Regions from separate parts of the Homo sapiens genome. Here all the other regions are linked to region 1. Evidence: promoter capture Hi-C in human tissues and cell types (Jung and others, 2019). All regions are on one chromosome and are shown on one strand. The core of a region is centred on a gene start or on the middle of the fragment in contact, and the rest is flanking DNA. Distances in the headings are between cores, read along the strand shown. Region 1 holds the start of TMEM168 (transmembrane protein 168). Region 2 has its middle 61 kb from the start of LINC03076. Region 3 has its middle 35 kb from the start of LINC03076.

Evidence for each region. Contacts are between HindIII fragments. The study calls those that stand out against the background at their distance.
Region 2: a fragment that was not itself captured here is called in contact with the fragment with the promoter of TMEM168 in region 1 in 1 of the 25 tissues and cell types used here (mesendoderm cells).
Region 3: a contact is called between a fragment that was not itself captured here and the fragment with the promoter of TMEM168 in region 1, in 1 of the 25 tissues and cell types used here (spleen).

The regions. Positions count from the first base shown.
Region 1 is chr7:112,788,754-112,792,082 of GRCh38, forward strand. It overlaps TMEM168 (transmembrane protein 168), which reads right to left and starts at 1,640. Exons shown (of 5, transcript NM_022484.6): 1 at 1,407-1,640. RefSeq lists an enhancer at 1,899-2,028. The HindIII fragment of the contact is 15,678 bases long and covers 1-3,329 here.
Region 2 is chr7:112,555,459-112,558,787 of GRCh38, forward strand. No RefSeq gene overlaps it. Among named protein-coding and RNA genes, the nearest start is that of LINC03076, 61 kb to the right of the region's middle. The HindIII fragment of the contact is 4,517 bases long and covers 1-3,329 here.
Region 3 is chr7:112,580,970-112,584,298 of GRCh38, forward strand. No RefSeq gene overlaps it. Among named protein-coding and RNA genes, the nearest start is that of LINC03076, 35 kb to the right of the region's middle. The HindIII fragment of the contact is 6,242 bases long and covers 1-3,329 here.

The DNA.
Region 1 (3,329 bases), core at 390-2,889:
TACATTTAATCCTCACCAAGTCCTGTCTACTATTCTTCCTAAACATTTTTTAAATGTTTCTACTTCTCGTCCCCAGGGTCACCATCCCAATTTTGGCCACCATCATGTTGAACATTTCCCTGTATCCACTCTTGCCCTCTCTAAGAAGTGTACTTTTTAAAACCAAAATTTAGCACTCCACTATGTAAAATGCTCCAATGGCGTCCCATCACCCTTAGCAATAAAGTCAAAACTCCTTACAGTGCCTTATAAGGCACTCCGTGTTGGGCCTGAATAACTCTCCTGCCTTATCTGTTACCAGTTTTCCTCTCACACTTTATTTTCCAACCTTACTGACCTTTCAATTACAAACTGCACAAATGCTATTCCCTTGCCAGGTACACTCCTTTTCCTCCTCCTGGCCCCACCCCAGTGCTCACACCTGGCTTATTCCAACTCTTCAGGTCTCAGATAAATCATTTTCTTAAGAGATTATCCCTGCCCCCTCCCCATTACATGACCCCCATACTTTCTCTGTTACATACCATCACTTATTTCATGTCTGCATTTCCCACTAGATCAAAAGGTCTCTGAGGGTTTGTCTTCAATACTGTACACCCAGTGACTAGCAAAAATCCGGCATCAAGAAGGTATTCAATAAATACTTGTTGAAAAATAAAGACTAATAAAGAAATAACTACATTTAACAACAATAGTCACCATTGGACACTTACTAATGCCTAAAGAGAATACAGAACTTAGCTATATCCCACAACTAATAACTAGTAGAACTAAGGGAGAGTCCATGAATGTTTGGTTTCTATTTCAGCTTTCCACCAGTCTTTACTTAATTCACCCAAATTCTTCCAAACCAATTCTCTCTCCATGTCCTACCTCTAGGGAATGGCTTGAGGCATACCGTATCACTTGCATTATCTTTCACTCAGAAACTCTGTCCCATCTAGAAGTGTCAAGGCTGAAAGAACTACACTGAAAAAACAGGGAATTTCAGTGCTTCAGTTCTGAATTACTGATAACTCTTTGAGCCATCTCATACGAGGAAAATGTCATCTAGAATATCAAACTCCTCAGCACTAGAGCAGCAACAGCAATTTCTCTCCCTTTCGGCCTCCTTCTAGCGAGATGTGGGAGGTCCGACAAGGAGCTTGGCTGTTCTCCACCATCCTCTGCCTCGGAGAACGCGACCACAACGTGGCGCCCAGTTGAGGGGGAACCCTTGCGAAATACGGAGAGGCGCTCCCACACCCTCCAATCTCCAACCACCACTGTCAACTCCTCCAGAGGCAGGTATCCTACCCCGGCCCTGGGAGGCCGACTGGGCGGAGCTTGGGGTCCGGACCACGCGGAGCCCTGGCAGTGTCTATGCCTAGATCTCGCCGCCCTGCCGTCCACCCATTTCTCCCTACCTGACTCGGCCGTCGCCACCAACGCGCTCTCCCAACCCTCGGAGTCAGTTCCAAAACCAAACCAAAAAGGAGGAGAGCAGACAAGGCTTCAGCCTGCGACTGAGAACAGGGAGGCGGCACGCCTTGGGGAACGAGGGCCCGAGGCCATACGCGCTAATACAGGCCAGTGTCGGCGTAAACTTTCTCCGTTACCGGCCCGGCCGCGACCGCCATGTTTCCGCCGCCGAAATCCGCGACGGTACGGAACGCCGCCGGGGTCAAACTGCGCGGCGCGCCTCCTTCCCGAGGCCCGGCCCCCTCCCCGCCCAAACCCGCGCGCCGCCACACACTCAGGTGAGCAAGGCGCTGCGCGAGTGTCAACTGCCCCACCTAAGGCGCCTGCCTTCCTCAAGCCAAAGTCGACTCCTGGGACCTGGAATCAGCAGCTGAGAACAGACAGCGGGAAGACCACCAAAGATCAGGCTGACAGTGCCCATCAAGCATCTAGGCCACCGCCTCGGGCTGGACCGAACGGGGACAGGGTGGACAGGACTGCCACGCGTGGGCTGTAAATACTGCGGGAGGCGTTGCTGCTCATTAATATATATGGCATAATATATGGCTTTGTAACCAGCTAAGGCCCAAGCTCCTTAGGCCCTCCCTCAGACCTTTCAGTTCCTCAAATGCAGGGACATGTCGGGTTTTGCTCAACATTAAATCACCTTAGCATAGTGCCTGACACATAGTTGGCACTTAAATATTTGTAAAATAATAATATGCAATAGGCTCTCCACGATCCGTAGTTCTCTCCTCCCACTTGTTTTGCATGTATTATCTATATATTTTTCCTATTTTCCATAATAGAGTGTGAATTTCCTAATTTTCATAATAGATGTTGGGGGTTGGTGTGGCCAGCACATCTATAGGAATGAACAACTCTCAGATTGAGATTCTGCATATGTGGATGAAAATTTTGAGTTAGATTCTCTCTAGACTCCTGATTTTAAAAGCAATCACAACTCAACTTCCCAAATCTGTAACTAGCTCTCTGGGGAACACGAGTGCCACATTTCCAACTACCTGCTAGATGTTTCTACTCAAATATATTGTCATCACTTCCAACTCAACTTGCCTTTAATGGACATTTATATACATTTATTATGCCCCCCATTTGAATCCCCTTCCGTATTTGGAGAATTCCCCACCTGAGTTAAGAGTCTAATGGCTGCCGCTGAAATGCTGAACACTTGTTTAACTAATCATGTGTACCCGCTGGAAGCCATGAGTCAAAAAAGGCACAGAAAGCTACACTCCCAGGTCACCTGTAGGAGTATAGCAAGTGTAGAGATCGAGAACCCATCCCTAACAGCAAGGTAAGCTTCCGAGGCAGTAGTGAGAGTGCTGGCATCCACCATTAACATGTCAGAGATGCAAGATGCCTGTGCTTGGTGAGGGTCACAACCCCAGAGCCCTTTCCCAATCTGTTCTGTAGCCTGTTAACAGTCTCTGTGTACATTTCTGGGTAGCCTGTGACAGACTCTGTACTACATAGCTGTGAGGCAGGACAATAGGGTCTGGAGGCAAGGAACTTACGGCTGATTCATGCTGACTTTCTAGAACTAAATCAAAAGGAAAGCCCCAACTTTCCACAGCTAAGTAACAAAGGGACCCGGCCCCCTCCCCCACCACCGCCCTTTTCTGCGTGGCAGACGGAAAATTGAAAGTACCTCGGATTGGTTGCTTTCCATAACTAATTAAATGTTTGCATAGGGTGTAACCTTTGTAACTTCGCTTCAGGCTCTGATTGGTTGCTTTCCGCTATCAGACTGATTGTGGGCCACTATATTTGCGTGGGGTGTACACCAAGTGGCCAATGGGAAACCTCTAGAGGGTGTTTATACCCCAGAAAATTCTATAACCCGGCCGCCCCGCTCTTGAGCCCCA
Region 2 (3,329 bases), core at 301-2,800, 230 kb before region 1:
CCTTTTTTGTTCCTTGAGCCCAGTCGTGAAGGGCCCTCATGGCTGGGCCTCATGCCAAACAACTAGTTACAAAAAGAGTTAGGGTCCCAGACTGCACCGAAGCTTCATGAGACCTCTCCTTGTCTGTGCACGGACGGGAGGCCAACTCTGGAGCCCAGGCTGTTGCTTCCCAGTCTGGTGGTGAATCCTCCATAGTCTGATGAGTGTAAATATATATATAATACATATATTTAGTGTAAATATATATATATCTTTTTCCTTCTCCCCTTCCCATTGCAATTTGCTTATTATATCATTTGCTTATTATATCTGCATTGCCATTTACATGGGATAAAGGTTGTTTACCCCTAAACATATTGTTTTTGTGTCTTTTCTTCTCCCCTCGTGCATTTCCCACACAGAACAAATGTCCAGAACAGATAAATCTATAGAGACAAAGTAGGCTAGTGGTTGTTTAGGGCTAGTGGAAGACATAGGCTGTGAGATTTCTTTTTGACATGATGAAAACCTAAAATGGACTGGTGATGGTTCCACATATGTGTAAATAAACTAAAAATCAATGAATTGTACACTTTAAATGGGTGAATCATAGGTATGTGAATTATATCTCAATAAAGCTGTTAAATGAAAATTTAAAATAACTTTAGTGACTTACACAATAAAATCTAAACTAGTCCCACTCCACTCTGCCCTCTGTGCAGAGTCTCAGGCTCAAAAATCTCTCCGCACTGTACTCCACAAATTATGAAGTCCATCCTGACTCAATGTTTTGTCCACACGCTAACTGATAGAGTTTGAATATTTGTGTCCTCCAAATCTTATGTTGAAATTTGATCACCATTGTTAGAGGTGAGGACTGGTGGGAGGTGTTTGGATCATGAGGGTGGATCCCTTATGAATGGGTTGGTGCCATCATTGAGGTAATGAGTGAGCTCTTGCTCTGTTAGTTCCCATGAGATCTGATTGTTAAAAAGAACATAGCACTTTCCTTCCCTCTCTCAATCTCTGTCCCTCTCCTTCTCCTCCTCCTTTCTTGCCATGTGACAAATCTGCTCCCACTTTGTCTTCTGCCATGATTGGAAGCTTCCTGAGGCCTTACCAGGAGCAGATACTGGTGCCATGCTTCTTTTGCAGCCTGCAGAACTGTAAGCCAAATATACTTCTTTTCTTTGTAATAACCCAGCCTCAGGTACTCTTCTATAGCAACACAAATGAACTAAGACACTGTCCCTGATGCTCCAGACTGCTCCATGTGTGCAACTGACTCCTGCTCATGCTGCAGCTTCCTTTGGTCAGAATGTCTTTCCCAGTGGCCCTTTTCTTCTGAGGTCTGCCAAGCAAACACCTACTCATCTTCCAAGTCTAGTCACTAGTCACCTACATTTCAAAACTTTATGCAACCACATGAATGTGTCATGAAGGCTTTCTTGCCAGGCTGAATCAACCACTTCCTCTTTTGCACTCTTCTACACCTGTACAAGCTCTGTCACAGCATCTCTAGAGCTTGTTTGCTTACCTGTTTCTTTCTCCTTTATTAGGCAGCTTTTCAGTGGCGGGGATATTGCTGTATTATTATTATTATTATTATTATTATTATTATTATTATTATTATTATTTTTTGAGACAGGATCTCGCTCTGTCCCCCAGGCTGGAGTGCAGTGGTGCAATCTTGGCTCACTGCAAGCTCCACCTCCTGGGTTCATGCCATTCTCCTGCCTCAGCCTCCCAAGTAGCTGGGACTACAGGTGCCCGCCACCACGCCTGGCTATTTTTTTTTTTTTTGTATCTTTAGTAGATACGGGGTTTCACCGTGTTAGCCAGGATGGTCTCGATCTTCTGACCTCGTGATCTGCCTGCCTCAGCCTCCCAAAGTGCTGGGATTACAGGCATGAGCCACCCGCACCTGCCCACTGTATTATTTTTATTCTACATCTTCTACTTGCTTGATTCTGGAGCTGCACACACTTGCTAGCCCTTATCTTCCACATACCATACCCAAATCAGAGCTTATTGCAAGAGCACAGGTCAGACAGGCCTATCTTGGCCTCACACTTATACCCTGCCCCTGCTGCTCTGTGGTCCTGCGTGTTCTCATGGTTGCAGAGACTCTCTTTCCAGATTATTTCTCCAAATGCTGAGCCCAAATATTGACCTCTGACCCATGCCACCATGCTTTTGCCTGTGCTGTGCAGCCTGACTGGCCCCCGCTGTCCTTGTACCTCTGGAAGTTGACTGCAGCCTGTGTACTGGACTGTGAGCTTTGCCAGGTTTCTCCAGTTTAACTTGAGAGCTCAAACTCCAAATTCTGTTTTGCTTTAAGATGTATGAGACCCAGGTCCCCAGCCGGTGCTCTGCCTAAGCTGTCCCAATTCAGCTCCTGTTTCTGCCCACCTTGATCAGTCTTATCCCATATTAGCTATATCTCGTATGGTTTCCTCTGACCCTAACCCCACCCTCTCCTATCTGCATAGTTTTCTCTTTTACCCCTAAGACTATATTAGATACTCTGCATGCTGACAGCTTCCTATGCATATACCAAGTGCTTATTATAGCACTTAACAGTCTATCTTGTAATTATTGCTTATCTGTGTGTCTCCCTCTCCCATTGGCCTCTGGACTCATGCTTGTCAACTTTTTCCTACTTGGACATGTTATAGATAATTTTTATTTGCTGACACACCCCCATTGATTTACCCAGATGGTGAGCTGTAGCAAAGACAAGATAGTGTGTGGATTATTTGTAGTTTATGATTTGTAACTCTAGCCCTTTTATTCCTGCTAAATAATGTATATCACAATGACAGTAAATGACTACAAAGTTATAAGGATAATAATCTGTTTTTTATAACAAATTTTAAAAAGTAAACATTTCACCAACTTTAGTACTTTCTTATCAATAGCAAATTACTTGTGCTAGCCTTCCAAGATGGCTGTACCACATGACTATGTCATTAGGGCATTCTTGCCAGATCCTGAGTTCCTGAGAGCTGGAGTTATATCACATTTATCACTGTAAACCCAGCATCTCACACAGTTCCTGACAATAACAGGCACTCGGTATATGTTTGTTTAATTGGTGGCTGGTTGATGAATTATAAAATGAGATTAATTTTTAAAATTCACTGGGTTTGCTTAAACACCAGGAGACTGAGGCTATCTCCAGCTGTGTAAAGGCAGCTTCTAAATCCAGAGTCCTTTAGAATTCGGTATCCTTTTACAATAAAGCCATGATAGCGGTGACTGTCCTGGAGAAGTAATATACAAAATAGCTAACGGGTTGGTACACTCCTGGAATGTTACTTTTACACACTATGAATGATTTCTAGTCT
Region 3 (3,329 bases), core at 487-2,986, 210 kb before region 1:
GTGGGGAATCAGCAATGAGGTAGAGGACTGGATGGAGCTAGGATTGAGAAGGCTGCGGCGGAGTGGGGGGCTTCCTTTGATCTCTCCCTGCTGCGGTATATAGGTTCAGGAAAGTATATTTATAACTCTTTGTGTTTATTTCCCTTCTTAAGGAGTGGCAACAGTAAATACTTAAAGATTGTGTATGCACGATAACCTCCCATAAGAGTTTCAAGCTCCTTGGTTTTGGTGTTATATAAGTGTAAATGGCTCCCCAAAAGGTCAGGCAGTTTATCTTCCCAAGAGTGATTGATGTTAGCAGTTTTGGTTGCTTATCTCTTCAGAACTCAGCTACCAGGAATAGAAAGAAAACCTTGAGACATCTTTTTCTTCATTAAGCAGTGGGGGAAGTGGTTTAAAGCCCTAAGTTATGAATTAACCACTTAGTTCTGTAATAAAATATAAGGAACTCTTTCTTCCTGCCTTATCAGAATATTTCGTATGAGGAGACAAAAGTATCTAAAATAAACAATATAGGTAGTGAAGGTCACTGAAAATAACACTTGCCTCCTCCCCACAGTTTAGTCTCTATAAAAATAGAGACTATTTGTATCTCTATTTTTATAAGAGTAATGCAAAGCTTTGAACATCCATGAATATTTGACTATAATTTAGTCAGTCTTTTCCTTCACTGGGGTAAAATAAGCTGTCACCTGGAGATAATATTTGAGTGCTGGACAAATGACTTCCCTCACTTCATCCAGAACTCTAGATGATCTTTAGACTGGCACTGGTAATAGGAGTCATGAGTGAAGTTAGCCAGAATGCCCAGCTCCCACACACTCTAAATTTAGAGTTTTTTTTTTTCTCTTTACCTACTTAACATTCAAAGACCACCAAGTATTTTTAAAACCCTAAACTTGAGAGACTTTAGACAGCTGGAAATTTGAGGCATTGAAAGGGTGGAGGGCTTATTTAAAGTTAGGCCAGAATTAGACTCCGAAGAATCCAGGGTCTTATGTGGGTGAAGAAGTTGAAATTTATTTCCAATGACTGATGTCCCCACCTCACTTAGCTACATTATTCTGCTCCCCACATACCTGGCGTATACTCCTTTCTGGACTTCTCATTTCAGAAGAAGAGATTATGATTGATGAATCCATGGTTGAATCAAACTGGTGACAATTTAAGGTGTTCTTCTTTGGGTGGCGGAATGGGGGAGGGATTTGCGTATGTAAGTTTAGATACTCAGAGAATGCTTAGTTTAAGCCGGAAAAAAATGTCTTCATGATGGAATTTTGATCATGTGGCCTGTGGATGGTGGACATGTGTTTGGGGCAAGGAGCGTCACCCTGGTTTCCTCAAGTCAGGACAAATCCAGGATAGTTTGCTTTATCATTGTGAAGACTGGTTCTGCTGCAGCTTCCACTGATTCTCTGAAGCCCAAGAGGCAATAGGACTGAAACATTCATTCCACCACTTGCAGGTCTATTTTATTTAAAATGAAAAGAGTATTTTTACTTGTGTACCCTCTATTAAATATTTGCATACATTTATTTGAGAAAAATAGCAAAAAAAAACCTTTCTTGCTTAAATTCTCCTGTCTGCCATGTTTCCTTCTTACTAATACATAAGTTGAAGGTAGCTGGTGAAATTAAAGCCACTAACTGTTGGCATGTTTATGAATGAGCTCTTACCTTAGTGCAGTGATTCTCAAACTTGGGTGTCCAGTGGGCAGCAGAACTACTGAAGCGCTTGGTAAAACACAAATGGATGGGCCCCACCCTGAGAGATTCTGATTTAGTAGGTCTGGAGTGGGGATTGAGAATTTGCATTTCCAGCCATTCCCAGATGGTTCTGAGGCTACTGGTCTGAGGAGCACATTTTGAGATTTACTGACTTAATTAAGCCTCACTCTCTTCTGACTCCCCCTGCTCTCACTGGGTCCCCCTCACTTGAGTCTCTGTTAGAGTAATGAAGAGTGGACACAGCAGTAGCCCAGTTCTTTTCACTGAACCAAAGGAACTTAAGCTTTAAAATTTAACCACCAAGTTATTCTCTATTTTACTTTTGTCAAGAACATCTGGCCAGGCATCAGGCTCATGCCTGTAATCCCAACACTTTGGGAGGCCAAGGTGGGCAGATCACTTGAGGTCAGGAGTTCGAGACCAGCCTGATCAACATGGTAAAAGCCCATCTCTACTAAAAATACAAAAATTAGCCGGCTTGGTGGTGGGAGCCTGTAATCCCAGCTACTCTGGAGGCTGAGGCAGGAGAATCACTTGAACTTTGGAGGCAGAGGTTGCAGTGAGCAGAGATTGTGCCCTGCACTCCAGCCTGGGTGACATTGTGGGACTCTGTCTCAAAAACAAAAACAAAACGCAAAAAACACATCTATGTTACACAGGACTTACTACTTAAGAGTTAAGAATAATATATACCTAGACAGCTACCCCAACTTGTAATAATAACAATTTGAGAGACCCCACTCATTTCAATCACATGCATACTCTGTCTCCTCATGAACTAACTTTCTCTGATGTGCTGGAAACTTGTGTTATCTCATTTGGTTTAAAAATCAGATAACAAATTGAGATTAAGCTGCTTCTTAATATTCTTCAGTGGGTTGATAAAAAACTGCCTACTGTTCTGATTCCCTTTAGCTGCAATGTGATATGATTGGTATCTTCAGGAACTATTTCAAATGATACCTGTTTGTGAAACATTTTCTATTTCTCTTTAGCCTCCCTGTGCATGGCCCACACCATGCTTATTTCCCATGCCGTTGTTTATCAGGGAATTATGATATGTTTTAGCACAGGACGTTTACTCTCTGTAGATTGTGAGCTCTTTAGGAAGGACCAACTGCAATTTTTTGTAACTTCAGTGCCATTTATAATCCCAAGTATGTAATAGATGCTTTATAAATATTGCTAAGTTGATGAGGTTTTAAAAGTTAATGTGAAACAAACAAACATTGATGAACAGATGCCAGAAGAGAAGCTCATTCCATCAACAATGATGTACCAATTATCTTTTGGAATAAGCGAGAAACCTAATTACATAGTAAATGATAACGGACACAATTTATTAATCTCATGGCTGTCTTGAAGTGTGAGAAACATTTGATGAATGAAATGTTTTTGACTATTAAAAAGGTGACATTATAAAACAAATATATATATTTCTTATAAGAAATCTGGAAAATAAAGAAGAAAATTTAAAAATCACCCCTAGTTCTACCCCAAATCAAATAATAAGTGTAAATAGTTAAAATGAAAATTACTTTTTAAAAACTACTACATCCATTCTCTTTCCCAAGAGCTAGTCATGTTAATCTTTAGCTTACT